7 separate regions of the Homo sapiens genome follow, and all the other regions are linked to region 1. Evidence: promoter capture Hi-C in 16 types of primary human blood cells and fetal thymus (Javierre and others, 2016). All regions are on one chromosome and are shown on one strand. The core of a region is centred on a gene start or on the middle of the fragment in contact, and the rest is flanking DNA. Distances in the headings are between cores, read along the strand shown. Region 1 holds the start of CLEC16A (C-type lectin domain containing 16A). Region 2 overlaps TXNDC11 (thioredoxin domain containing 11). Region 3 overlaps TXNDC11 (thioredoxin domain containing 11). Region 4 overlaps TXNDC11 (thioredoxin domain containing 11). Region 5 holds the start of SNN (stannin). Region 6 has its middle 22 kb from the start of SNN. Region 7 has its middle 30 kb from the start of LITAF.

The links. Contacts are between HindIII fragments. The CHiCAGO score rates a contact against its expected background, and 5 or more counts as called.
Region 2: a contact is called between a fragment that was not itself captured here and the fragment with the promoter of CLEC16A in region 1, in 12 of 17 cell types (activated CD4 T cells, naive CD8 T cells, total CD8 T cells and 9 more). The highest score is 14.1, in activated CD4 T cells.
Region 3: a fragment that was not itself captured here is called in contact with the fragment with the promoter of CLEC16A in region 1 in 10 of 17 cell types (naive CD8 T cells, activated CD4 T cells, erythroblasts and 7 more); the score reaches 12.9 in naive CD8 T cells.
Region 4: a fragment that was not itself captured here is called in contact with the fragment with the promoter of CLEC16A in region 1 in 9 of 17 cell types (total CD8 T cells, naive B cells, naive CD4 T cells and 6 more); the score reaches 9.6 in total CD8 T cells.
Region 5: the fragment with the promoter of SNN here is called in contact with the fragment with the promoter of CLEC16A in region 1 in 9 of 17 cell types (activated CD4 T cells, total CD8 T cells, naive B cells and 6 more); the score reaches 13.1 in activated CD4 T cells.
Region 6: a fragment that was not itself captured here is called in contact with the fragment with the promoter of CLEC16A in region 1 in 1 of 17 cell types (fetal thymus); the score reaches 6.6 in fetal thymus.
Region 7: a contact is called between a fragment that was not itself captured here and the fragment with the promoter of CLEC16A in region 1, in 1 of 17 cell types (activated CD4 T cells). The highest score is 5.9, in activated CD4 T cells.

The regions. Positions count from the first base shown.
Region 1 is chr16:10,942,867-10,946,812 of GRCh38, forward strand. It overlaps CLEC16A (C-type lectin domain containing 16A), which reads left to right and starts at 1,698. Exons shown (of 24, transcript NM_015226.3): 1 at 1,698-1,931. The coding sequence starts at 1,852. It also overlaps a transcript of CIITA not described here. RefSeq lists enhancers at 1,311-1,490, 1,711-1,770. The HindIII fragment of the contact is 6,288 bases long and covers 1,472-3,946 here.
Region 2 is chr16:11,727,525-11,731,470 of GRCh38, forward strand. TXNDC11 (thioredoxin domain containing 11) reads right to left here. Exons shown (of 12, transcript NM_015914.7): 4 at 3,121-3,250. Among named protein-coding and RNA genes, the nearest start is that of TXNDC11, 13 kb to the right of the region's middle. RefSeq lists an enhancer at 1,005-1,064. The HindIII fragment of the contact is 3,200 bases long and covers 570-3,769 here.
Region 3 is chr16:11,702,867-11,706,812 of GRCh38, forward strand. The region is part of intron 5 of TXNDC11 (thioredoxin domain containing 11); the gene reads right to left. Among named protein-coding and RNA genes, the nearest start is that of SNN, 36 kb to the left of the region's middle. The HindIII fragment of the contact is 4,582 bases long and covers 1-3,944 here.
Region 4 is chr16:11,683,352-11,687,297 of GRCh38, forward strand. TXNDC11 (thioredoxin domain containing 11) reads right to left here. Exons shown (of 12, transcript NM_015914.7): 11 at 814-894. Among named protein-coding and RNA genes, the nearest start is that of SNN, 17 kb to the left of the region's middle. The HindIII fragment of the contact is 6,503 bases long and covers 1-3,946 here.
Region 5 is chr16:11,666,741-11,670,686 of GRCh38, forward strand. It overlaps SNN (stannin), which reads left to right and starts at 1,715. Exons shown (of 2, transcript NM_003498.6): 1 at 1,715-1,800. RefSeq lists a silencer at 1,388-1,807 and an enhancer at 2,915-3,014. The HindIII fragment of the contact is 10,329 bases long and covers 1-3,946 here.
Region 6 is chr16:11,644,510-11,648,455 of GRCh38, forward strand. No RefSeq gene overlaps it. Among named protein-coding and RNA genes, the nearest start is that of SNN, 22 kb to the right of the region's middle. The HindIII fragment of the contact is 8,808 bases long and covers 1-3,946 here.
Region 7 is chr16:11,615,380-11,619,325 of GRCh38, forward strand. It overlaps a transcript of LITAF not described here. Among named protein-coding and RNA genes, the nearest start is that of LITAF, 30 kb to the left of the region's middle. RefSeq lists an enhancer at 1-167. The HindIII fragment of the contact is 7,613 bases long and covers 1-3,946 here.

The DNA of each region.
Region 1 (3,946 bases), core at 448-2,947:
AAAGCGCCAATTTTCATGGTGGAGATCCACCAGTGTCCCCTTCGCTTCTCCAAACTCTGGTTGCTGGAAGGTCCGCCCACTACGGAACCTGCATCCTAGAGTTAAGGAACACCTGAATAAAGAGATTCCGAGGTAGTTCAGATCTTCAACCATAAGGATGCTTTTTGTTTCTTTTTACTTTGTGAATCATGTTTAAAAGCAATAATACACATGGCTAAACATTCAAACAACCGTGAAGTACACAGAAAAGTGAGTCTCTCCCACCCACTGGTTCCCCTGCTCTTGGGTAACCGTTGCATGTCTTTCAGGAAAACATGATCTCGCCCAAAGAGCCTTCCAAAGCAGTTCAAGAAACCTTTAAATCTCAGGCCACACTGAGCTGAGTATTTTACATGCATCGCTTAATCGGAGGTATACAAGGCAGTGTAGTATGTATGTGCGTACTTTTTACAGATGAAAAATACGAGCCCAGGGATCCTACATTTCTGAGCCTGGGTGTGTTTCTTTGGAGGCCAGATCCTGTTCTTTTTTGCTCCATGACTTTGTCTTGCCCCACTCTATATGAATTACAGGACAAACCATTAACTCTCCACTCTTATCCATTTCTCCAACTGCTGAAGGTGAAACAAACCTTTACTCATTCATGCACTCTACCAATATTTGTTAAACACCTGCTATGTGCCAAACCTTGTGCTAGGCACTGGGGAGAACATTGGCCTCTGGCCCAGTTCTTTCTTGAGCAGAGTTAATGGGACACAGTGGACCTTTAATAAGGTTGATATGTAGAAGTGACTGAATGAATGAATGGATGGTAAACTTGAGAAGTCTTGCCCACACTGAACTTACCACTTCTAATCCAGGGTAGAAGTTAGATATATTCTGGCTCATGCAGAAAGTTGGGTGTTTCCTTTTTCATTTTAACGTGGTACTTTGGGAAATAGCATGGATTCTGGCTGAAGACCAGAGGAATCCTCTGGAAGTACAAAATGTTCAGTTTGGTGCATTGTTGCATCCAGCCTTTTCCAACACACACACACACACACACACACACACACACACACACACACACACACACACACACTTAATTGAAGTGGAAAAAGAAAAAGGCTGTCAGGACAAATAAGGTTGTTATCTAGTGCCGTTTTGGTTTATAAAGGGAATGAAAAATAAGGGTGCGTGCGTGGTTATGAACCCTGGTTTTGCCACTTGTTAACTGCATGATCTTGGGTAAGTCAACCTCTCAGTGACTCCGTTTCCCTGATGATAAAATAGGTTCGATAATAGTACCCAATTCATAGGATGGTTGTGAAAATTAAATACCTTAATATGTAAAGCCCTTAGGATAGTGGCTTTGCATAGTATACACCATCCAATACTATTCTTATTCTTATTATAAATCTAGTAATTGTTACTACAGTGGTGACTTTCCTTGACCCATCTACGCCGATTCCCTCTCCGGGACTGCGCCCAAAGCTTCCAATTCCCGCCCACCCGGAGGATTCTGCGGTCGCTCCTCCTCTCGCCCCGCCTTTTGTGGATGGCCGTAGGCCCGCGGTTGCACGATGCATGCCGGGCCTTGTAGTCCGTTCGCGGAGTCCTGCCGCCGAAGGCCACGCGGGTGAACTGCATTTCCCAGCGCCCCACGCGGCGGCGGCCGTAAAGCGCGGCGGTCGAACGGCCGGTTCCGGCTGAATGTCAGTGCTGGGCTGTGGGCCGGGGAGGAAGGCGGCTCGCGGTTCCTCCACCGCCTCCGCCGCCGCATCCTCCGCTTGTGCTACCGCCGCGGGCGCTGGGCCGCTCTGCTGGTCCGGCATGAGACCGTGAGACGAGAGACGGGTCGGGGCCGCCGACATGTTTGGCCGCTCGCGGAGCTGGGTGGGCGGGGGCCATGGCAAGACTTCCCGCAACATCCACTCCTTGGACCACCTCAAGTGAGTGTGGGGGGCGTAGCGGGAGGCCTCGGGGCTGGACAGGGGGACGGGGCGCCGAGCTCCGGGTCGGGGCTCTAGGAGGCGTGAGAGCGGCGGCGAAGGGCGCCCGGGGAAGCCCGTGTGGTGGTTAAGAGCGAGGGCTCGGGAGTCAGGGCGCCTGGGTTCGAACCCTGACCCCGTCGCTCTTGGCTGTGTGACCTTGGACAAGTCGCTTAATTTCTCAGAGTCTCCGTATCCCCACCTGTAAAGCGAGAGGATGCGATTTCAGTTTATGGACACAGACTTTGTTCTTGACGGTGTCCACCAAGTTTCCTGGCGGGGTACTTCTTAAACTGAACAGCTTAGAGGGTCAAAGGCCTGGGTCCTGGAGTCGGGCAGATCTGGGTCCGAATCTATCTGTGTGAATGTAGGCCTCAGGTTCCCCACTTGTAAAAAGAGTAGAGTGACAGCACCTGCTTCCTGCTATTGTGTTGAGAGTTGGTTGGATAAGAGAATGAACGTTAAGCTCAGAACACGTACAATTGCTCATTAAACGGCATTAATTATTATAAAAGAACAGATTATTTTCCGAGGGGAGTCTAAGCTGGGGGCATGCACGCTGAGACCCAGGATTTTGGGGCGATTGGGGAGGATGATGAAAAATAGAGACCTCTGAGGAGGGAATGACTCTACAGCTCTGGGGGAGGACAGGTGGCAGATAGGGTCTTGGGACCAGGAGTGCAGAAATTAAGAGGCTGGCTTTGCAGCCACACCTGCGTTCAAATCCTGAAACCACCATTTACTGGCTGTGTGACCTTGGGCAAATTACTTCACCTCTCTGAGCCTCCAGATTCCCATTTGCAAATGGGGATCGTGAACATTGTAATGGAAATGGAAGGTGACTGACCCAGTAGGTACATAGTAGGTGGCCAGTAGTGGTAGCTGTGTTTATTATCAGCTCAGCGAGGCCTTCCCAGACCACCCTACCTAACGTGCTCCCCCCATCCCAGTTCCTATCCATCACATCTTTCTCTTGCTTTCATTGAGTGCTTCTCCACTCTCTGCGATTATTCTTTATTTTTTATTTATACTTATTTTCTGTCTTCTGTTAAACTGGCACTTCACGAGGGCACAGACTGCTTGGTTTGTTCACAGTTGTATTCCCAGCATCTAGGACTGCTCTCTGCTTACTTAAAGAGTGGAAAAATGAATGATTGAATTGGGGAGAGATGAAGAGCATGCAGGCCAGGACCCAGGATTTGGGGGCAGGTGTGGAGGATGATGAAAAATAGAGATCTGTATGAAGGGAAAGGCTTTAGGGAGGGAAATGGCGGGGATGCTGAAGAGGGGAGTAGACAAATCTTCAGTGTCAAGAAATAGGCAGGTTTCCAGAAGGAGATCCTGAGACTACTAATGGGAAAGGAGGAAGATAGGGTTAGGGATATGGTGGGAAGTAGTGGAAGGGAGACGGGGCTGTGGAAAGGATTGGTGGGAGGGAATTAGATAGGGACTTCTCATGTGTCCCCGGGAGTGGGGTAGGGGTAGTGGCAGGGCCACAGTTCTCAGCTGTGACCTTTCTAGCATGGAGCAGCATTTAGTAAACGTTTGTGAGTCTTGAAGAGTGGGGAGCAGGAGGGTTCACTATGTGGTGAGGGGCACTTTTAGAGCAGGAGGTGGTGAGAGAAGACAAGGGGAGGAAAGAGGCCCAGGACAAGTCTGGGGTGGGTAGGGAGGTGGGGATCTTAGATGGGAGGGCAGCTGGCCGGGAAAGGGAGTGGTTGAAGGATTTCAGGAATTTATCGAGTGGGCGGAGGTGGCTGAGGAGGGGAGGGGAGTTATCCAGAGGAGGTTGGGCCTCCTGCCGGCATCCAGGTACCTCCAGGTTCTCACCTAACTCTGCTTAACTCTAGCCCTTTTAAATTACCTTAATTTATTAATTTATCGAATGCATTATTCTGTACCAGGTATTTGCTAAGGACTGCCTGTGTGTTAATTCCCTTAGTCCTCACAAGTCTGAGTTACAGGAACCATTATTG
Region 2 (3,946 bases), core at 920-3,419, 790 kb after region 1:
CCTTCACATATTTAAACTGTATAGGGTTTTTTTGTTTGTGTTTTTTGGAAAAAGTGAGTAGTTTGAGTAAAAAGTTGAGTATCAGAGACAGCTCTACTGATGACACTCTAACTCACCCCTAGCTATAATTTCCACCCGCCCCCCCCACCCCACCATAACCTTCCACCATTCTCTAGTCAAGGCACTGTTTAATTTTCATCTTCTCTCTACTGCCACCATTATAAGCAGATAAACTTTTAACTATTAAATGAATGCCTTTGAGAGCCCCATGATAAAAGACATGTTTTCTTCCTCTTAAGGCCTTAATTGGGAAAACTCAATTCTTCAGAGCAGTAGTTCTTAATGGGGGAATTTTGCCCCCTGAGGGGTATTTGGCAAGGTCTGCAGATATTTTTGGTTGTCACAAATGAGGGGAGAAAAGGGTGCTACCAACATCTAGTGGGTGGAGGCCAGGGATATTGCTAAATATCCTACAAACCACAGGACAGCCCCCCAAAACACAGAATTATCTGACCTCCAACGTCAACTGCGCCAAGGTTGAGAAACCCTAACTTAGCAGAATATTCAAAAGCTTACTGTGTTCTACTCCAGGGACTCCAAAAATTCCTTAACTTTCCTAATTATTCAACCATCAAAACCATGACAGTGGTTTCATTTCTGGATCTAGAATTCTGTCTCTATCTTATAGGCAGTGTGTGTGAAACTGATACATTTTCTAGGCTGTGCTATTTGGTATATTTTGCAAGACAAATGGTTTCACAAGTGTCACGATGGGCTTGACTAGTGAGTTGTTTCACAATTAATAAAGTACTATCTATCTCTTGCCAATGAGACAATCTCATCTCAGTGACAAGCCCAGCAAAAGATGATACTAACCCGATAAAAGCCACAGCTTTTGGGAGGAAGTCATTTTAAAGGCTGACAGAAGTGATCTAGGGACCCCATCTTGGTAGCACTCTTGTGGTTCCCATTTTAAAGGCAGTCCAGTTTAATCACTGTTGTACATCACTCTAAGTGGGCTGCCAAAAAACTTAATGTAATGTTTTAAATGTCATCAGCAGTAATGTCGTCAGTAGATTAGTGAGTCTAACATGAACTCCACACCAATACTTGGAGGATAGTCTTTTAAAGTACTGCTGGGCTGGGCATGATGGCTCACACCTGTAATCCCAGCACTTTGGGAGGCTGAGGCAGAACGATCGCTTGAGCCGAGTTCATGCCACCACACTCCAGCCTGGGTGACAGAGTGAAACCCTATCTCAAAAAAATAAAATAATCCAGCCTGGCCAACATGGTGAAACCCCATCTCTACTGAAAATACAAAAAATTAGCCAGGTATGATGGTGCATGCCTGTAATCCCAGCTACTTAGGAGGCTGAGGCAGAAGAATCACTTGAACCTGAGAGATGGAGATTGCAGCGAGCCAAGATCATGCCACTGCACTCCAGCCTGGGTAACAGAGTGAGACCATCTCTAAATCAATCAATCAATCAATCAATCAATCAATGGAGTACTGCTAAAAGCAGGTCTGTCTGACTCCTGATTCTTCACCATTTTGCTGTGCCATCCCGAGTGGCTCTGGCTGTAACCCACTGAAGAACCATGTCAAAACCCACTTACCACAACTTTACTGTTAGAAGGAATCTCAAGGATACCCTGGCCCAGGCCCCTGATGCCCAGGAAGTGAGTAACCCGCCCCAAATCACAAACCCAGTGAGTGTGCCAAAGGGATCAGGCCCCAGTACCCTGCCTCTTAATATAGCCCTCACCCACCAGCCTGCCCAGGGAAAATGAGAGGCAGGCCTCTGAGGTGCACAGACATCCATCTGCTATCTATGTAATTAAGGAATATTTACTCTGATGCATAGCTAAGAACTAAAAGCAGAATAACTAGATATACTGCTGCTTGGGGAATCTCTGCTAATAGTTAACACATATGTAGTTTCCAACATGACTGAATAAAGCTATACTGATGTTCTGGTGAAAAAATGTGTATCCAATCTATACAGAATATAAATAGTGCGAACAGTAAAATTCAACTAGCCACAATTCTAAACTGTCAGGAAGGTCTGGATATACATGGTTTTTTAATCTCTGTCAGGTATTTATGGTCTTGATTTTGTTGTACCTAAGTATCATTTTACTTGTACTCAAGTATGATTTTACACTTGCTCCAGTGAATTTTTTGCAGAACTACTTTTATAATTTTTTGAGGCTACATCTTTCAATAATCCCAATACTGGCCTCACAATAAGCCATTCTTAACATGCATTAAAGATCCTACAGGGCTGGGCGTGGCGTCCCACACCTGCAATCCCAGCACTGTGAGGGGAGGCCAACATGGGAAGATCACTTGAGGCCCAGAGTTCAAGACCAGCCTGGTCAACATGGTGAAACCCTCTTTAGTGAAAAATACAAAAATTAGCTGGGCGTGGTGGCACTGCCTGTTATTGCAACTACTTGGGTGGCTGAGGCACAAGAAGCACTTGAACCCAGGAAGTGGAGTTTGCAGTGAGCTGAGATTGCACTCCAGCCTGGGTGTCAGAGCAAGACTCTGTCTCAAAAAAGAAAATACCATAAAAATAATTTACCAGGGGTTGAAGTTGGCAGTGGGGAAGCAGGAAAGAAGCTACATCAGGAAAGTTAGAAAACTTTCTGCAATTAAGACCTTCAAATAGTTATATACTTCATAATATGGAAGGGAACATATTTCCAGTTTTCAAAAAAACCAAACTACAACTGACAAGAGAAACCAGGTATCTCATAGTACAATGCTATGAGAAGTGTCAAGTAATATTCTTAGAAATTTGCAGTTGCACATAAATTGTAAGTTAATTCTCATCTACTCTAAGTTAACTGTAAGGCAAGATGAAAATCTGTTGAAAATTCCCTAACGAAAAACAAAGACTTTGCTAGTACTCTATTCTCTTAAAACTCTCTTGGACAAACCATCCTTATAATCAGTATCTCAAAAAGCATTTAACTGGGGCTGATCTATCACATGACCTTTTACTTGCTGCAATTCAGGAGGTATTTTTTTAAACCCCTTTAAAACAAACAATCCAATACAACCCCGTGAAAGGCCTTGAGTATGGAGGAGGAGATATGAAAGACAAGTACCTCGTAGTTTGAGAGAAAATCTAGTAATTCTGATTGAGATGGGATGTAGAGAAGTGGTTTCATCACCCGGCGGACAAACTTCTCAATGTAAACAGCACTCATGGGGCCTTTGTATTCGATTGGTCCAAAACTAGTACCAAAAAATAAAAATAAAAATAAAAATAATAAAAATAATACACCATGCATTAAGCCTGTAATGTATAACTAAAATCATCACCACCACAAAATGAAAGTGTCTTGCTTTGGGATCCAACCAAGTCACAGATCAGTAGCCTGCTTTGCTCAGGAGGTGACCAGAGAATTAAGAACAAGCATTTTGGGTGAGGAGAGGCACAAGCAGCCCCTACCCTTCTATGATCTTGAATTCAACTGCAAACTGAATTGCCAAACAAGGAACATTTACTCTTATCTCTGAAAAAAAAATTAATTCCCACAGTAGTTCTTTTAAAAACAAAACAGAGAGACAACCCTGGAAATTGACCACATGCTAAGGGATTCCAGGATTTAACTATACAATTCAACGCAGGCGGGCAGACTTTCCTTCTACTAGTCACTGTGAGGTAAGGGACAGGTTGAACAGTCAGCCCTTGGCCTACTAAAAAGAAACAGGCAGACAAAGGATCACTGAATGAACCTTAAACCTATTTGAAGCTTTATTACAACAATAACAAATTATGTGAAGGTCTGAAGTCAGTGACCTGTTTAAATAATCTTTCTTCCTTTCCCCTCCAGTTGTGCCTGGGGACACATAGAATTGGATTCAGTGCCGCTAAGTGATACCACCACTATTCAGTTATCCTCCTAAGCTAATCAGAATTCTCACGTG
Region 3 (3,946 bases), core at 404-2,903, 760 kb after region 1:
GGTCGGAGTGAGTATGTCCCTACTGCCAGAGTCAATAATTTTTCATACAAATCTGATGAGTGTAAAATGGCACAAAACAAAAGAAATACAGGACAAATAAGCCAGGCTGGGGAAAGGGGACTGGAAACGGGAAGGCAGGGCTGAGGAGGCCTGGCACTGAGTAGGCCTTTTTGTATCTGACTCCTAGGGCCACAGTGATGTATCACACACCCTTCACACACTCCAAAATTAAACAATTAGTTAAAACCAAGCGAGATGTGGCAAACCCAACGTGGAATACAGCACGTACAAATAACCCTAACTATTGCAAACGGGTAACACCATGGTGAATGGGACAGGAAGAAAGAACCTAAGTAACTGGAAAACAGTATCTTGACTGGATGCTGTAAAACTAAAGGCAAAAAGAACTGTACATAAATGCTGTAAATCTAGGTAGTAAATGTGTTTCTTAAAGAGGTATAAGTTAGCAATTCTGAAACTATGAACTTATTTACTTCTTTGTGGTAAGTACATTATACATAATTACAGCCAGGACTCTCACTGTTGCAGTAAGAAGTTATATATTAATAAGAGAAGGCTAAAATAAACCCTGTGATGTTAAATTGAAATCAGAGAGAATGAGTATAAACTTAAGGCTTTTGATACACACACACACACACACACACACACACACACACAGAGGGAGAGAGAGGGGATGGATAGAGAAATACAGATATATGCACATGTGTGGGTATAATACACTTCCTAGTTCTATCTACTGAGAAGACCTAGAAGTAATGACATCCTAATACCAAAGAGCATACCTAGCACGTAGATCTTGGTTTCTAAATGCCATTCTCCAGTAAAAGAAACCAGGGCCCTTGGAGAAGAGGTTGATTCCAGAGCTGGGGTGAAGAAAGTACAAGATAAGCCTGAAATATCTTGTATCAGAAGTAAAGAAGTGGGCTGGGCATGGTGGCTCACGCCTGTAATCCCAGCACTTTGGGAGGCCAAGGCGGGTGGATCACCTGAGGTCATGAGTTTGAGACCAGCCTGGCCAACATAGTGAAACCCCATCTCTACTAAAAATACAAGAATTAGCCGGATGTGGTGGCACGCACCTGTAATTCCAGCTATCTGGGAGGCTGAGGCAGCAGAATTGCTTGAACCCGGGAGGTGCAGGTTGCAGTGAGCCGAGATTTTGCCATTGCACTCCAGCCTGGGTGACAAGAGTGAAACTCCGTCTCAAAAAAAATAAATGAAGTAAAGAAGTGCTCATAAAAGGATGGGGGTTTGTCCAAAGGACCCAGGAGCCAAGCTGAAGCCCTCCTAGTAGCCAAAGTTGGAACAATTTGAGCAACAAAATAAACAATGACAGTACACAGAATAAGATAAATACCCATGACTCCATAATAATATTAATGAGAACAGTCAGCTCTTCTTTAAGGGAGAATTCCACTAATAATGAAAAAAGAATGAAAGAAACAGAAAATAACCATTTGAACACCAGAGTAATTGTTGCAGGCAAGATCCACTGATGGAGGCTAAAATTCATGAGCAGAAGTTTGAGGATATATTTACATAGTGTCAAATGATCTTCCCCCAAGGTATTTATTTATTAATTACAAAGGAAGAGATAGTAACTTTTCAGTGGAGAAACACAGCAGACACTACTTTAACCAACTGATCAAAGTTAATGTCACCAGTAGGAGACACACTGACATCATATGAACCCCCTGATAAGAAGTGCTGAGAAGTACCTATTTCTATGGTATTGCTGTCAAAAGACATGACCTATTCCAGTCACAAGAAAACAGACAAAATTGAGCAATTTTCTACAAAATACCTGAGAAATATTCTTCAGAAGTGTCAAGGTTATAAAGGACAAGGAAAGACAGAGGATTTGTCATAGGTTGAAGGAAACTGAGAAAAAAACCAACACATTGCGATATGGGATCCCAGACTGGATCCTGAAACAAAAACAGACACTAGTGGAAACATGGAGACAATTCAAATGAGGTCTGCAGTTTAGTGAATAGGACCGAACCAATGTTAACTTCTTTTTCTTTCTTTTTTTTTTTTGAGACAGATTCTTGTTCTGTCGCCCAGGCTGGAGTACAGTGGTGCATCTCGGCTCACTGCAACCTTAAGTGATTCTCCTGCCTCAGCCTCCCGAGTAGCTGGGATTATAGGCATGCACCCCCATGTCCAGCTAATTTTTCTGTATTTTTAGTAGAGACAAGGTTTCACCATGTTGGCCAGGATGATCTCGAACTCCTAACCTCAAGTGATCCACCTGGCCTCAGCCTCCCAAAGTGCTGAGATTACAGGTGTGAGCCACCACACCCAACTCTAACATTGACTTCTTAGTTTGTACAAAACCACCTAACAATTGGTTATGTAAGATGTTAACAATGGGGGAAACTGGCTAAAGACAGGCAATTATGGAACTCTCTGTTTTATTTTTGCAACTTTTCTCTAAGTATAGAATTAGTTGAAGATTTTTAAAAACTTTGTTTAAAGGGCATGGCATATAAGTCCAGATCCCAAAGCTGTCAGAAGAAACAGACCAAAGAGAGGACGTGATTTAGTAGGACCAAAACACCACTCTCCAGAAGCAGCTGATCTTGGAGGACAGTCACAGTTAAAAGAAGAGAAGGAAAAGCAGCCAGTAAGGAAATTCATTTGATAGCCTGCCAAAGTCACCATCGTGATTTATTAGAGCAGAGAAATAAGAAGTGACAGCCTGACCCAAAAGTTAAAAGGGGCCATTCAAAAACCTGTTTAACTGCCTTAATAAGAATGGACAGTCTGCCCATACAGAACAAATTCTAACATGCTCAAACATATTATAATTTCAAAACTTTATTTTTCACACATAACAGAAATGTACAAAAAACACGCTTCTATTTAAGTTCTAGCATATGGTGGAAATCTTGCTAGAAGCAGCAGCTTAAATTTGCAGTCTCACGTGAACAAAGAATACTTAGATTAGCAGAGGAAGTTTATAGCGTAAAGATGACACAAAAAACCAGCATGTCACATCTCCTTATCCAGAGTGTTTTCTGATAAGCAGAGCTCCAGGGCTTTCTACGACAGAAGTCTTAGTCATTTATAAAATGAATTATTTTGTCCTAAAAGTAATGAATTTTCAATATTTTAATTAAGAACTTGGAATTTGTTGGACAATTAAAAATAAACTAAGACTCATACTCTCCCCTCCTCTACTCAAAAAGGTCTAAAAACTGCAGTATCCCATTCGATTAAAAAAAAAATTCTCCATTAGCCTGGTAATTGGCCAGTTCAAGATCTCTGTTAACCATACAGTGACAACTGGTGTCAATGATCACTGCAAGATGTAATGAAATCTTGAAGGAACATCTGGGTAAAGAATTAGTTACTAACCAGTTTCCACAGCTGCTCATGCAGGTGGCTAAGAAGGTCAAGGTGACCACAGCCAGCATGTCTCTTGGCGCCACTCACCCCTCAGGGAGGGAGGGTGCTCCTTGGCTGCTTGCTACAGAGGGTGCTGAGCCCTGGGCCCTGTGATCGTCGGCTACAAGGCTGTGCACACAGGCACCATCTAGACCCATCACAGCACATCTCCCATGGGCATGGGCTGGGGAACCAGCACTATTATGCTGATGCTAATATTGTTTGCTGTGCTTTGAGCAGAAATGGTCTTGTGCTTTGACTCATGAAATCTTGCCTACTTTTGGCAGGCAGGCAGGTTTACTCCTGGTCATCTCTTGTGAGTGTGGGATTCTTCTCTGCCCCTAACAGAATGTTCTTCTCTTGCTTCCCACACCCTCCCCAAGTATAGCTTTGGCTGCCCTTCTTGTGCCTCCCGTGCACCGCTGTCACCATTCACCTCATGACAGCTACCAAGGGTTCCTGAAAGACCTGAAACTCCATCTGGTTTCCACTCACATTCATCTGGCTCACTATCCTCTAGTTTGGATAAAAG
Region 4 (3,946 bases), core at 958-3,457, 740 kb after region 1:
GCATGGGAGAAAACCCCTTTGTAGGCCTCCTGGAATCCGAGAAAAGGACGTGCCATGGGTAAGAAAGCCACCCTGTCCTCTGTACGAGAGGGATGAGGAGCTGCTGGGAGGCCAACTGAGAGACAAGCAAGTGGAAGGCTTGGGGCAGGCAGGGCTCCACAGATTCTCTGCTGTTTTGCCCCACACAAACATTGCACCACTGCACTCCAGCCAGGGCAACAGAAGAATCCTGTCAGTCTCTGCGTCCTCCATATGTTCATACAGGCCATGAAAGCTAAGAATTCTCACGGCCACATTCAAGCTCGGGTAAGAGATAGACTGGGAAAAACAACCTTTAAAAGATCCATACCACACATAACATCCTGACACTACAACCCTTTTATGTCCCTAAGGACACTTTTTTTTTTTTTTTTTTTTTGAGGCAGAGCCTCGCTCTGTCACCCAGGTTGGAGTGCAGTGGTGTGATCTTGGCTCACTGCAACCTCCGCATCCCAGGTTCAAGAGATTCTCGTGCCTCAGCCTCAGAGTAGCTGGGATTACAAGCATATGTCACCATGCCTGGCTAATTTTTGTATTTTTTGTACTGATGGGGTTTCACCATGTCGGCCAGGCTGGTCTCAACCTCTTGAGCTCAAGCAATCTGCCTGCCTCAGCCTCCCAAAGTGCTGGGATTACAGGCATGAGCCACCACGCCTGGTTCCTAAGGGAACATTTTTTGAACATAATGAATGATTTACATCTTAAACCCATTTCATTTTCAGACCTCCACAAAAGAATCCCAACTGCCCACCAGTGACAAAAATTTGGCATTACCTGTTGCAGGGAAAAAACAAGACAGTAGGAAGACGATCGACCATAAATTCCCAAGGAAGGTCATTCTGAGACACGTCAATCCTGGTAAAGGGAAAGAACAGAAATGGCAGATGATCAGCCCAAGAAACACCAACTTGAAAGAACCTTCTCAGATAACTTCAAGAACCTGGTGCATTTTTTACACCCCACATTGGGCTAGTCCCTTCTCGATGAATGTACTACCAGGTGTGAGCTGGGCGCTGATACTTCCAAGACATACAACATTCTACTACGTGGACGCTTTCCACTGAGTGGCAATGTGATGTCCTGAAAGTAAAAATGAACTTGCAGAAAATGCCGCACTGACACCTGAGGAGTCATTCACTCCTCACCTGACAGGATCTAGCCAAGTATTTTAATCCCTGAATAGCTCTGGGAAAAGAAAGGAAATCATTGAGCAAAATACATCAAGCCCCTCTGAAGATGGAAAATTATACCCTCTTTATGTTGTAAATCTGGATAGAGACCAAAAACAGCCTATTTTCTTAGCAGATTTGACATTAATTTTCTAATACAGAAAATGACATCTGTACTAACTCACCCAGCCTGTGCTCAATCACTGTGGGAGCTAACCGCAACTGCTCTAGAGGCCTGCCCCGGGCAGCTGGCACAGAGCTGGGCACACAGCTGGGCGCCCACACTCGGGCTAAGCAGACATGGAGCCACAACAGCATCCTTTATGGAAGGGGCTGCATCCTCCTTGCGGAGGGGCTATTCAGCTACTATTCATAAACAGTGCACACAAAAGATGAACATGTTTTCAATCTTTACCTTGACAGAAGTTTTTAGAAAGCATAACTGGGGGGAGTGAGGGTGCGGTAAGTGTCATGTATGTGTCCAAAAGGATGAAATTTGCTTTTCAAAAAATGGCACAACCAGGCTGAGCACAGGGGCTCACGCCTGTAAATCCAACACTTTGGGAGGCCGAGGTGGGTGGACTGTTTGAGCCCAGGAGTTCGAGACTAGCCTGGGCAACATGGGGAAACCCTGTCTCTACAAAAAATTGGCCGGGTATTCTGGCACATGCCTGTAGTCCCAGCTACTTGGGAAGGTGGGAGAATCACCTGAACCTGGGAGGTTGGGGCTGCAGTGAGCTGTGATTGCACCACTGCATTCCAGCCTGGGCAACAGAGTGAGACCCTGTCTCAAAAAAACAACAACGCCGGGCGTGGTGGCTCACGTCTGTAATCCCAGCACTTTAGGAGGCCGAGGCAGGCAGATCACGAGGTCAGGTGATCGAGACCATCCTGGCTAACGCGGTGAAACGCCACCCGTCTCTACTAAAAATACAAAAAATTAGCTGGGCATAATGGCGGGCGCCTGTAGTCCCAGCTACTCGGGAGGCTGAGGCAGGAGAATGGCGTGAACCCGGGAGGCGGAGCTTATAGTGAGCTGAGATTGCACCTCTGCACTCCAGCCTGGGCAACAGAGCAAGACTCCATCTCAAAAAAAAAAACAAAAACAAAAAACAACAACAGCAACAAAAGGCATAACCAAATGAAAACCATTTACCAAAAGTTTACTAACAAAACAGCACTCCTGCCTCACCTGTGCCAGCCTACCTAAAACATTAGTGTTCCTTTCTAAACAAGTGGGAGTGAACACTATATTCCATAATTAAATGCTTTTTCTCACTTGATTCTTACTTCAAAGAAAGCAAACTATAAAATTAAAACATTGTAAAAATCCACTCAGAATTCCATTGGGCTAAATAAGGCCCCCCTTTCTTATGCAGGCTGCAGGCTTGGTCTATATGCTTACTTTTTTTTTTCTGAGACACAGTCTTGCTCTGTCGCCCAGGCTGGAATGCAGTGGTGCAATCTCAGCTCCCTGTAACCTCCGGCTGCTGGATTCAAGTGATTCTCCTGCCTCAGCCTCCTGAGTAGTTGGGACTACAGGCACGTGCCGCCACACTTGGCTAATTTTTTATTTTTAGTAGAGACAGGTTTTCACTATGTTGGCCAGGCTGGTCTCGAACTCCTGGCCTCAGGTGATCCGCCCACCTCGGCCTCCCAACATGCTGGGATTACAGGCATGAGCCACTGCACCTCGCCTATATCCTTACATATTTTTAAGAAGAGTTGTCATATATTTCATACTCTGTTCTTTTCCATTAACTGTATGAAAAGCACTGTTGAAGGATAAAAATTCCATTAAATGCCCAGCCATAATTTACTTAAACATTCATCTCCTGGTGGATGTAAACAATGCTATAATGATGAGCTCATGCTTCTTCGGAATTCCTATTCCATTACTTCTCCAAAGTAAAATTAACTGGGTCAAAAATGTGTTAACTGTTTTTGTTGATTTCTTGTAAATGTTGCCAAAATGCTTTCCAAAAGAGTTATGGCAATGTACTCATTCCATTAGATACATCTGACTGCAGTTTCCATTTTATTTTATCAACACAAGATTCTGTCACTTAAAACCACTGATTACTTTAATATGTTAAATGATACTTTGTTACTGTTTTAATTTACATTTATTAGGTTATAATTTCCCCACTTGTTTATTTACTCTCTCCTCTTAAAAGAAAAACCTGCTCACATCCTTTGTTCAGAATGGAATCGGTCTCAGCCATCTTCTAAACCATTTTAATTTCCGGGGAGGCTGGAGTATGAATGCCTGATTTAATCCTGGCCCCTCATTTGCAGCTTGAAACTCTGGGCAACTTGTCGAATCTTTCTATGTCTCAGTTTCCTCCTCAACACAAATAGCACTTTCTTTTTTTAACTAGAGTGCCTTCACTAAGCGTCGCAAGGACTCAGTCAGGTAATATGTATATCAAAAACTCTCCCAACATAGTAACTCCTCAGATTTGATTCTAATTATTACTTACAGTGCATATAACAGGTGACACAGAGACACTGGAAAATATATTAATGGTCCCCCTTTTTGTCTGCTTTCCCTGTTTTCACTGCACGTATTTCTAGTGGAATCTGTCCATTTTTCTCTCTTTATTTTTCCAACTGCTTCCACTTTGGAAAGTTTCCATCTCCCAGAGGAATCAGCAAATCCTATTTTTTGTTTTGATTTTTTTATATTTAACTCTTATCTATCTGTAGGGTTTTGGGGGAGGTGGGGGGTTAAATGT
Region 5 (3,946 bases), core at 465-2,964, 720 kb after region 1:
GCAGGAGGATCACCCAGGAGTTTGAGACCAGCTCAGGCAACAACAAGAGACCCTATCTCTACAAAAAATTAAAAAATTAGCCGGGCATGGTGGCATGCACCTGTAGTCTCAGCTACCTGGGAGGCTGAGGTAGGAGGATCGCTTGAGCCCAGGTTACAGTGACCTATGATTGCACCACTGTACTCCAGCCTGGGCGACAGAGCAAGACCTTCTCTCTAAAAAAAAGAAAAAAAATTGCTTCGTCAAATCTGCCCACATTCATAGATATAGGCTGAGTGGGACGATGGCTTGAGCCCAGGAAGGAGTTGGATGGAGGCTGTAGTGAGCTGTGATTGCACCACTGTACTCCAGCCTGAGTGACAGACCAAGACCCCGTCTCAAAAACAAAACAAAAAACCCCAAGGGAGCTACTCTTGGCTGGGCGATCAGGGAGGGCCCTCCTGAGGAAGGGGCACTTAAGCTGAGATCGGGAAGATGAAGTAGAAGAGTTCCAGCTGCAGGGAGCCACATAGGCAAAGGCCTGGCGGTGGGAAAGGCTTGGTGCACTGGGCGCAGGGAAGAAAGCCCAGCGAGGCTGAGTGGAGGGAGTGAGGGCCTGGCCACCTCAGCCTCGTGAGCCCAACCCGCCATGCTCTTCCAGAGGCTTCTGCTTGAGAATGGGAAAGAAGTTTCCAGCAAATAAGGCCCCCGTTCCCAGGAGGAGGTCCCAGCTCGCCCTGCCCCCTCCTGTCTTCTCAAGTCCCCTGGGCCACAGAAGCCTTGAGGGACCCACCCTCACCCCTTCTGTGGGCCCCAGGGCTGGGGTGTCCTCTCGCCGATGGCCTTCTTGGGGTGGATGAGTGGAGATTACTCCAATAACTGGAGCCTCTGTCTTCCCAGGTAGACAGGCCTGGCCTCAAAACCCTCTCTCCATCAGGAGCAGGCTGTGGGACTTCAGCTCTTTGGAGCCTCAGGTTCCTCATCTGTAAAATGGGAAGATTCTTTCTTCCGGAGTCATCTTAATAAAATGTGTTGGGCTGTTTATACAGGGCAGGCATTTGGTGGGGGCCAAACCACCGGGTAATTATGCTAAAAATAACTATGATTATAGGTGGCAGAGGGGTGCAAATGCCTCACAGCCTCATCCCGCAGAGGAATGAGAGCTTCGTCAGGGCCGGGACCTTGTCTGGCTCGTGGCTGCTCCCACGACGACTGGCGTGGCAGGCACGTGGTCAGTGTTCCGCCATCGACTGACTGGGCGGATGAATGATACATAAATGAATTCGCGAACGACTGATGCCCAGCTTCCTCCCGAAGCAAGGTCATTCACCTCAGCGGTCGCGCCTCTCCCCTGCCCCTGCCCCGGATTCCCCGCCGCTCTCAGCTCTCGAGGAGTATGCAGCACTCTTCCGTGCAGCGTGCCTCAGTTTCCTCCGCTGTAAGCAGGCGGGACCAAGGCAGCCTGCCGGGGTCAGGATGAGGCTGGCAGAGGAAGGGCGCCTGTAGTGGGGCCCCGTACCCACGGGCGCCCAATCCGCGCTCGCCAGGGCCGAGCCCGCCCGCCGCGCGCAGCCCCCGCCCCACCGCCTGCCGGCCCCGAGCACACGTGACTCCGCCCCGGCCCGCCCCGCCCCGCCGTCCCAGCGCGGGCTCCCATTGGCCTTTCTGGGAGGCCCCGTCCCCAGCCGGGGAGGAGCCGGGCCCCGCCCGCCGCAGCGCGGGGCTCCTGCGTCCCGAGTGCGCGGCGGCCGGACCGGGCGGGCGGAGCCGGGCCCGCGGGGCTGCTGCGGGGCGATCGGGCCGGGCCGCTGCCGCGCCATGGTGAGCCGGGCGGGGCAGGCCGCGCGCTCGGGCCGGGCGGGGGCGCCGGGGCCCGGGGGCGGGAAGGGGGAGGCCAGGACGAGGAGGGGCGCGCGCGGCGGCGGGGCCGGGCCGGGGTCTGCGGGCGGGGGAGGGGCGGCCCGGCGGGCGCGGCTCGGGGGAGGGTCCGTTCCAGGGGCCGCGCCCGCGGGCTGGGGTTCTTTGTCAGCGGCGCTGCGGCGAGATCCGGACAAAGGAGGCGGCGGGGGGCGGAGGCCGCTTTGTGGGGATCGCGGGGCGCTCGCCCCCGCCCGTGCAGCCCCCGCCCGTCCTCAGCTACGCTCCCGCCTTCCCCCGGCATTTCGGGGTTCTTCAAAATTCTGGGAGCTCCGGGGAGGGCTCCGGGGATAGGGGTCCAGGTGACGTCCGGCGCCCGTCTCGCGGGTAGGGAAACTGAGGCCGGGCCGCAGCGTTCGGCGCCCGGTTCCGTGGGCAGCGGCTGCGCGGCGTGGGCATGCCTAGCTCCCCTGGTCCCCGTCCCACACCCCGCCTCCGTCGGGCCGATTCGAGCTACCTCCCCAGCTGCCGTCCCCTCTCCAGCTGTCGCCCCCTGGGCCGAGCCCCCTCCTCCCTGGAGCCTCGCTTTGCTCCTCCGTGGAGTGGGGGAGACGCCGGCGCCGCCGGGCAGGGTGGAACGGGAGGGTGCGCGGAGCGCGCCTGGCACCGCGCCTGCCACGCCGCCCGCGCTCAGCACTCGGGAGCCGCCGGGGCGCTGTCACCCCTAAGTCCCCAGCACCCAGCCCAGGTCGCCCAGCCCGCCCCAGCGAGGGCCACACTGGGGTTCACCTGTCCGCGGCCCCTCAGGCACGCGGGAGAGGAGGTAGGGAGAATGTGGCATTTTAGAGTCAGGGTCGAAATGCGGGATTTTGGATGCAGGTTGCCTGGGTTTGAATCCCTGCGCGTCTACTTTTGAGCTGTGTGACCTTGGGCAATGGACTTAACTTCTCTGAGCCACCAATTTCTGTATCTGCCAAGAGGGAACAGTAATAGCTCAACTGCCCTGTTGTCTTGAGGCAGAAAGGAGACATCTGCGTGAGCTGTTTATCTCAGTGTCTGGCACATATAATTGCCACCAACTTTCTCCGGCATCTACAAGCAAAGTTGTTTGGCCAAACAGGCCAACCCTGGGGCAGCCTGTGAAAATGACCAGCGGGTGATTCACAGGGTGGGGGCATGAGCCTCTGGCCTGGCCCGAGGAAGACCCCGACTGACCTTGGGGCAGTCCCGGTTCAGAGCTCTGCGGGCTCCCGCTTCCTCTTTTGCCACTGGGGAACCTAGGGGATTCTGGAGCGAGTTTCCTCTTCTGAGGATGGGGGTGTCATGGGTGGGGGTGGAGGATGAGATAACACTGGCCAGAGAGCTGGGCACAGCCCCATCAGTGTCAGTCCCACTGGCATCCGGCCGTTCTTGGTCCTGGCTTCTGGAGGGCTGGGGCCTTGTGTGATGCGTCCTTGTGTCCCACTGGCTGCTGGAGGCCCAGGGCAGAACGGACGTCCCGCCTCGTCCTGGCTGTGTCCAGCAGTGCCCTCTTCTCCCTACAACCCTGTTTTCCCAGTCAGAACCTGGGGCAGGAAACGTTTCTGGTTTGTGACCCGGGGTTCGCTGAAGAGTTTGTTGGCACCCTTGGCAGGTGGCTTTATGGGGGGAGGCAGTACTGAAAGCCCCGTAGGGATGGCTGGTCCCCTGTAAGCAGGGCAGCCCTCCTGGCGTCTGTCAAGGAGCCTCAGGAGGTGGCGGCTGCAAGGCGGGGGTGTTTTGCTGGTGGTGAGCCCGGCAATGCTCATGATGTGCCCGGTTGAGTTAGGAGGAGGCAGCGTGTCCCTGGGGAAGGGGTGTTTGTGGCACTGGGCCTGGGCCAGGCTCTGTGCCCTTCTGGCCCTGGGGGTGGGCTTGGGGATCCCTCGGGCTCAGTGTTCTCCCTTTGTCCCTGCTGTAGCACACAGGAAGGTGTGGCTGGTGACATGCAAACCTGGTGACCTCATGTCCCTTTTGTTTTCACTTTTCTTACCACTTCTCATCCTCCCCACGACCTGGTAGATGAGGTCAGGGACTCGTATCCGCTTTGCGCATTGAGAAACTGAGGCCAAGAGGAGCAGCTTGCTTGGCT
Region 6 (3,946 bases), core at 701-3,200, 700 kb after region 1:
CTGTAATCCCAGCACTTTGGGAGGTCAAGACAGGCGGATCACGAGGTCAGGAGATCCAGACCATTCTGGCTAACACAGTGAAACTCTGTCTCTACTAAAAATACAAAAAATTAGCCAGGCGTGGTGGCACACGCCTGTAGTCCCAGCTACTCAGGAGGCTGAGGCAGGAGAATCCTTTGAACACGGGAGGCGGAGGTTGCAGTGAGCCGAGATCATGCCATTGCACTCCGGCCTGGAAGATAGAGAGAGACTCGTCTCACAAAAAAAAAAAAAAAAAAAAAAAAAAAAGGAAAGAGAAAAAAGAAATGAGAAGGCCGGGCACAGTGGCTCACGCCTGTAATCCTAACATCTTGGGAGGCCGAGGCGGGCAGATCATCTGAGGTCAGGAGTTCCAGACCAGCCTGGCCATCATGGTAAAACCCCGTCTCTACTAAAAATACAAAAATTAGCCAGGTGTGGATGCCTGTAATCCCAGCTGCTCAAGAGGCTGAGGCAGGAGAATCGCTTAAACCCAGGAGATGGAGGTTGCAGTGACCCAAGATCGCGCCATTGCACTACAGGCTGGGCAACAGAGCGAGACTCCATCTCAAAAAAAAAAAAAAAATGTTTCCTTATCCTACAATGCAGTGGTCTCCAGGATATATGGTTAAGCAAAAAAAAATAAATAACTGTTCAGGTGTGGTGACTCACATCTGTAATCCCAGAACTTTGGGAGGCCGTGGCAGGTGGATCACATGAGGTCAGGAGTTCGAGACCAGCCTGGCCAACATGACAAAACCTCATCTCTACTAAAAATACAAAAATTAGCTGGGCATGGTGGCGGGCGCCTGTAATTCCAGCTACACAGGAGGCTGAGACAGGAGAATTGCTTGAACCCTGGAGGCAGAGGTTGCAGTGAGCCGAGGTTGCACCACTGCACTCTAGCCTGGGTGATGGAGTGAGACTCTGTCTCAAAAAAAATTTTAAATAAATAAATAAATAACAGTATCCAAGGATCAGAACTATGAATGCAAAGCATGCTACCTACCTTCTCAATACACCTGTGGTTTGTATATGTTTGTTCACATTTTCAAAGAAAAACGATGGAATGATAAAGCCAACATGGGTATTTACAGGGTAAGAGGAGGCAGACTGGTGATGGAGGGGTGGAAGCTCAGCTTCTCTGAGTGTGTCTTGTTTCAGAGTTTCTATTTGGTAAATGTAAATATTTTACAAAATTACAAAGTAAAATCAAAGACAAAAAGACCGATCCCTTAAAATAAAAAAAAAAAGTAAAAAACCCTGAGTATATGCCAATTTGGCATAACCACACTAAGAAGGATTATTGGAAGTGACTTTTTTCCTTTTTTTTTTTTTTCCAGACAGAGTCTCACTCTGTCACCCAGGCTGGAGTGCAGTGGCACAATCTCAGCTCATTGCAATCTCTGCCTCCTGGGTTCAAGCAATTCTCGTGCCTCAGCCTCCCGACATACCTGGGATCACGGGAAGGCATTGCCATGCCCGGCAAATTTTTTTGTAATTTTAGTAGGGATGGGGTTTCACCATGTCAGCCAGTCTGGTCTTGACCTCCTGACCTAAGGTGATCTGCCCACCTTGGCCTCCCAAAGTGCTGGGATTGCAGGTGTGAGCCACTGCACCCAGCCTCTTCTTTTTTTTTTTAACTTTCATTTGAAGTTCAGGGGTACAAGTGCAGGTTTATTACATAGGTCAACCTGTGTCATGGGGGTTTGTTGTACAGATTATTTCATCACCTAAGCATTAAGCCTAGTACACATTAGTTATTTTTCCTGATCCTCTCCCTCCTCCCACCCTCCACCCTCCAAAAGGCCCCAGTGTATGTTGTTCCCCTGTATGTGTCCGTGTGTTCTGCCATTGAGCTCACAGAAAGTGACTTTAAAATAGCATTTTGAGGCTGGGCACGGTGGCTTATGCTTGTAATCCCAGCACTTTGGGAAGCCGAAGCGGGCAGATCATGAGATCAGGTGTTTAAGGCCAGCCTGGTCAATATGGTGAAACCCCGTCTCTACTAAAAATACAAAAATTAGCCAGGTGTGGTGGCACATGCCTGTAATCCCAGCTACTTGGGAGGCTGAGGCAGAAGAATTGCTTGAACCCGGGAGGTGGAGGTTGCAGTGAGCTAAGATCGTGCCACTGCACTCCAGCCAGGGTGACAGAGCGAGACTCTGTCTCAAAAAACAAAAATAGCATTTTGAGCCAGGCACAGTGGCTCATGCCTGTAATCCCAGCACTTTGGGAGGCCAGGAGTTCGAGACCAGCCTGGCCAACTGTAATCCTAGCTACCCGGGAGGCTGATGCATGAGAATTGCTTGAACCCAGGAGGCAGAGGTTGCAGTGAGCCGAGATTGTGCCACTGCACTCCAGCCTGGGCAACAGAGCGAGACACCATCTCAAAAAAAAAAAAAAAAAAGCATTTTGAGCAGGGCACAGTGGTTCATGCCTATAATCCCAGCACTTTGGGAGGCCAAGAGTTCGAGACCAGCCTGGCCAACATGGTGAAACCCTGTCTCTATCTACTAATAATAAAAAATGAGCTGGGAGTGGTGGCACACATATGTAATCCTAGCTACCCAGGAGGCTGACGCAGGAGAATTGCTTGAACCCAGGAGGCAGAGGTTGCAGTGAGCCGAGATTGTGCCACTGTACTCCAGCCTGGATAACAGAGCGAAACTCTGTCTCAAAAAAAAAAAAAAAAAATAGCACTTTGATTGTATTATACCAGATATTATATATCTCTAGTGGGTTTTACCCTAAGGACAAAAGAACCACCATGAAACAGAACTACATTGAAATCCTCACCTGTACTCAGTTATCTTATAGGTAGTGATTATATTAGCATTCTGACAGTGAAGCTGTCAGGTTTTTGCCATCTCTTGCTTCCTCTCTCACCACATGATCTCTGCACATGCCTGCTCCCTCTTTGCTATCCACCATGAGTGGACACGGCCCAAGGCCCTCACCAAATCCAGCTGCCCAATCTTCAACTATTTTTTTTTTCTTTTTTCGAGATGGAGTCTTGCTTTGTCACCCAGGCTGGAGTGCGATGGCACCATCTTGGCTCACTGCAACTTCTGCCTCCTGGGTTCAAGCAATTCTCCTGCCTCAGCCTCCCAGGTAGCTAGGATTACAGGCGCCTGCCTCCACACTCAGCTAATTTTTTGTATTTTTAGTAGAGATGGGGTTTCACCATGTTGGCCAGGCTGGTTTCGAACTCCTGACCTCAAAAGATCCGCCTGCCTCGGCATCCCAGAGTGCTAGGATTACAGGCATGAGCCACCACGCCTGGTCCCAATCTTGAACTTTTAAACCTCTTTTCTTTGTAAATTTTTAAAAAGAAATGATTATCTTTGTAATATAGGATAAAGAAAATAAGAAATTGGCCGAGCACGGGGGCTCACACCTGTAATCTCAGAACTTTGGGAGGCCAAGGCGGGTGTATCGTTTGAGCTCACGAGTTTGAGACCTCCTCAAACTGGCGAAACCTTGTCTCTATTAAAAAATACAAAAACTAGCCAGGCTTGGTGGTGCATGCCTGTAGTCCCAGCTACTTAGGAGGCTGAGGTGGAAGGATGGCTTGAGCCCAGGAGGTAGAGGTTGCAGTGAGCCAAGATTATGCCACTGCACTCCAGCATGGGTGATACAACCAGACCTTGACTCAAAAAGAGAGAAAGAAAGACAGGAATGAAGGAATGAAGGAAGGAAGGAAGGAAGGAAGGAAGAAATTGTGTTAATGTTGTTAGAAACCCAGATTTTCTATGTTAGAAAAAAGGAGATATATGCCGGGCCTGGTGGCTCACACCTGTAATCCCAGCACTCTGGGAGGCCGAGGTAGGCGGATCACCTGAGGTTAGGAGTCTGAGACCAGCCTTGCCAATTTGGTGAAAACTCATCTCTACTAAAAAATACAAAAATTAGCTGAGTGTGGTGG
Region 7 (3,946 bases), core at 1-2,500, 670 kb after region 1:
TACAAAAATTAGCCTGGCATGGTGGTGCATGCCTGTAATCCCACCTACTCAGGAGGCTGAGGCAGGAGAATCGCTTGAACCTGGGAGGTGGAGGTTGCGGTGAGCCGAGATCACACCATTGCACTGCAGCCGGGGCAAAAAGAGTGAAACTCCGTCTCAATAAATAAATAAATAGCCAGGTGTGGTGGTGCATGCCTGTAATCCCAGCTACTCAGGAGGTGGAGGTTGCAGTGAACCGAGATTGCACCACTGCACTCCAGCCTGGGAGACAGAGTGAGACTATGTCTTTAAAAATAAATAAATAACTAAAATAAAATAATAAAAAAAGAAAAGTGAAGACCTATGTGGTATAATAAAAAGTATCTGCTTGGTCTTTGTTCCCTGTCACTGGTTCCTGGCACAGAGCTGCCAAAGCCCTTGGACCCTCCTCAGTGATTAGAGTATCTTTCGTATGCTAATGGGATGACTCAAGATGACTCAGTGTGGGGGTACCTAGATAGCTTTGGAATGCTTAGAGGGTTAGAAGGTTCAGTTCACCCACTCCTCACCTCTGGGGAGGGGAGAGGGACTAGGAGTTGGGTCCAATCACCAATGGCCATGATTTAATCAATTATGCCTACGTCACGAAACCTTGATAAGAACCACTAGATAGGTTTCTGGGAGCGTTCAGGTTGCCAAATACATCCACTACCTGGGAGGTGGGGCACCCCAACTCCACGGGGACAGTGGCCCTACATTCAGGGCCCTTCCAGACCCCACCCTATGCTCCTGTGCATCTGGCTGTTTGTATCTTTTATAATAAACTGGAATAGTGCTGGACACCGTGGCTCCCACCTGGAATCCCAATGTTTTGGGAGGCTGAAGCAGGCAGATCCCTTGAAGCCAGGGATTTGAGACCAGCCTGGGCAACATGGCAAGACCCCATCTCTAAAAAAATTTTTTATTAAATTAGCCAGGCATGGTAGCACGTGACTGTGTTCCCAGCTACTCAGAAGGCTGAGGTGGGAGGATTGCTTGAGGCTAGGAGGTTGAGGCTGCAGTGAGCTACGATTGTGCCACTGCACTCCAGCCATGGGTGACAGGGTGAGACCCTGTCTCAACAAAACAAAACAAGAAAAAAAAAAAGAAAAAGAAAGGGGCTTATGATGAATAACAAAAGATGTACCTCTCATCTTTGCCACTCAGGAAATTACGAGGACCTTAGAAGCTCTGTCAGGTACGTGAGGCAAAGACCAAATACATATTTCCTATTGTATCACAATATCACAGGCTACCCTCTGGCCTTTGAACACAAATCCCTTACAGTCAGATGATCATAAACATCAAAAGATGCCCGGAGTGGGCAACATAGGAAGACCCCATCTCTACAAAAATTCTTAAAAATTTACCGGGCATAGTGGTGCACACGTGTGGTCCCAACTACTCAGGAGGCTGAGGCAGGAGGATCACCTGAGCCCAAGAGGTTGAGGCTGCAGTGAGCTGTGACTGAGCTACTTAACTCCAACCTGGGAAAGAGAGCAAGACTCTATCTCAAAAAAAAAAAAAAAAAAAAGATGCCAGCAGGGCGCAGTGGCTCACATCTGTAATCCCAACACTTTGGGAGGCCGAGGCAGGCAGATCACCTGAGGTCAGGAGTTCGAGACCAGCCTGGTCAACATGGTGAAACCCCATCTCTACTAAAAATACAAAAATTTGCCAGGCGTGGTGGTGCAAGCCTGTGGTCCCAGCTACTTGAGAGGCTGAGGCAGGAGGATCGCTTGAACCCGGGAGGCAGTAGTTGCAGTGAGCCGAGCTCACACGAATACACTTCAACCTGGGTGACAGAGCGAGACTCCAACTCAAAAAAATAAATAAATAGAAATAAAAAAGATGCCAGCACATTGCTAAAATCCATCAGTCCTTAATAACGATACAGTCCGCCATCCCATGAAATGTATGAAAATGTCCCCCAGGGTAAGGCTGCCCAGGCTTGCAGGCTTCCATTCTGTCTTATCAAGTTCTGAAAGCAGGGGCAGTCCCAGCAATATATCAATATATGGCTTCACTCTTTTTTTTTTTTTTTTTTTTTTTTGAGTCGGAGCCTTGCTCTGTTGCCCAGGCTGGAGTGGAGTGGCACAACTCACTGCAACTTCTGCCTCCCGGGTTCAAGGGATTCTCTTGCCTCAGCCTCCCAAGTAGCTGGGACTACAGGCTCACACCACCACGCCCAGCTAATTTTTGTATTTTTAGTAGAGACGGGGTTTCACCATATTGGCCAGACTGGTCTCGAACTCCTGACCTTGTCATCCGCCCGCCTCGGCCTCCCAAAATGCTGGGATTACAGGGGTGAGTCACCGTGCCTGGCCTATATGGTTTCAATCTTTCAGGCATCTGGTATAACTGAGCCAAGGGACAACGCCATCTCTTGATCTAAGCCTCTTTGAAGGTGTTAATGTAATATTAAATTTCCTTCCCTCCGTAACCTATTTATTTATTTATTCATTCATTCATTTATTCATTTTATGTATTTGAGACAGGGTCTCACTCTGTCACACAGGCTGGAATGTAGCAGCTCGAACATAGCTCACTGCAGCCTCAACCCCCTGAGATCAAACGATCCTCCCACCTCAGCCTCCCAAGCAGCTGGGACTACAGGTGCATGCCACCACAACCAGCTTCCAAAAAAATTTTTTTGTTCGAAGAGATGGGGTCTCACTATGTTGCCCAAGCTGGTCTCAAACTCCTGGGCTCAAGTGATCCTCCCCAGTCAGCTACTGGGATTACAGGCGTGAGCCACTGCACCTGGCCATAACCCATTTATTTATTCTGTCTTTTACCTCCAGCTATTTTTGTTTCTTCTCTCCATTTATGCCCAAACTTTTCCCCCTTGGAAGAGACATTCCGTTCTGCCACTGTGCTGGTCTAGATTGCAGGCAGAAATACTAGTCTAGCAGGTGCCTCCCCTGGCAAGGCGGGAGGAGAGCCCTGAATTTGTAATCAGCCAGGCAGAAGTAGGGGTAGCCTGGGGACGCCATTTGCACTGGTGTCTGAAGTGGGAGCAGTCCTGTGGGACTGAGTCCTTTGACCGTGCAGTCTGCACTAACTGTGGGCAGCTTCTGTCGGAACTGAATTGAATTGCTGGCCATGCAGCTGGTGTCAGAGAATCTGGAGAGCGTGCTTGATGGGCTCCCCGGGCTTTCGCTGTGTGCGATGGGCTAATAGCAAGATAGTTTCTCTCTGGCCATGGAGCCACTGGCCATTGTCCCCGCCTCCCAGTGGGTGGAGCATTTCTGGGGGTGGGGAGGGGGCGCTTCATAGAGCTGCAAATTAAAAACCCCCGCACTGGCCGGCCGCGGGGGCTCACACCTGTAATCCCAGCACTTTAGGAGACCGAGGCGGGCGGATCACGAGGTCAGGAGTTCGAGTTCAGCCTGGCTAACATGGTGAAACCCTGTCTCTACTAAAAATACGAAAGTTAGCCGGGCGTGGTGGTGGGTGCCTGTAATCCCAGCTACTCAGGAGGCTGAGGCAGGAGAATCGCGTGAACCTGGGAGGTGGAGGTTGCAGTGAGCCGAGATTACGCCACTGCACTCCAGCCTGGGCAACAGAGCTAGACTCGGTCTTAAAAAAAAAACAAAACAAACAAACAAACAAAAAAAACCCCAGCACTGCCCGGGCACGGTGGCTTACGCCTGTAATCCCAGCACTTTGGGAGGCCAAGGCAGGCAGGTCACTTGAGGTCAGGAGTTCGAGACCAGCCTGGCCAACATGGCAAAACCCCTTCTCTACTAAAAATACAAAATTTAGCTTGGTGTGGTGGCGCTTGCCTGTAATCCCAGCTACTTGGGATGCTGAGGGAGGAGAGTCGTTTGAACCTGGGAGGAAGAGGTTGCAGTGAGCCGAGATCACATCACTGTACTCCAGACTGGGTGACAAAGCAAGACTTCGTCTCAAAAACAAAAAACAA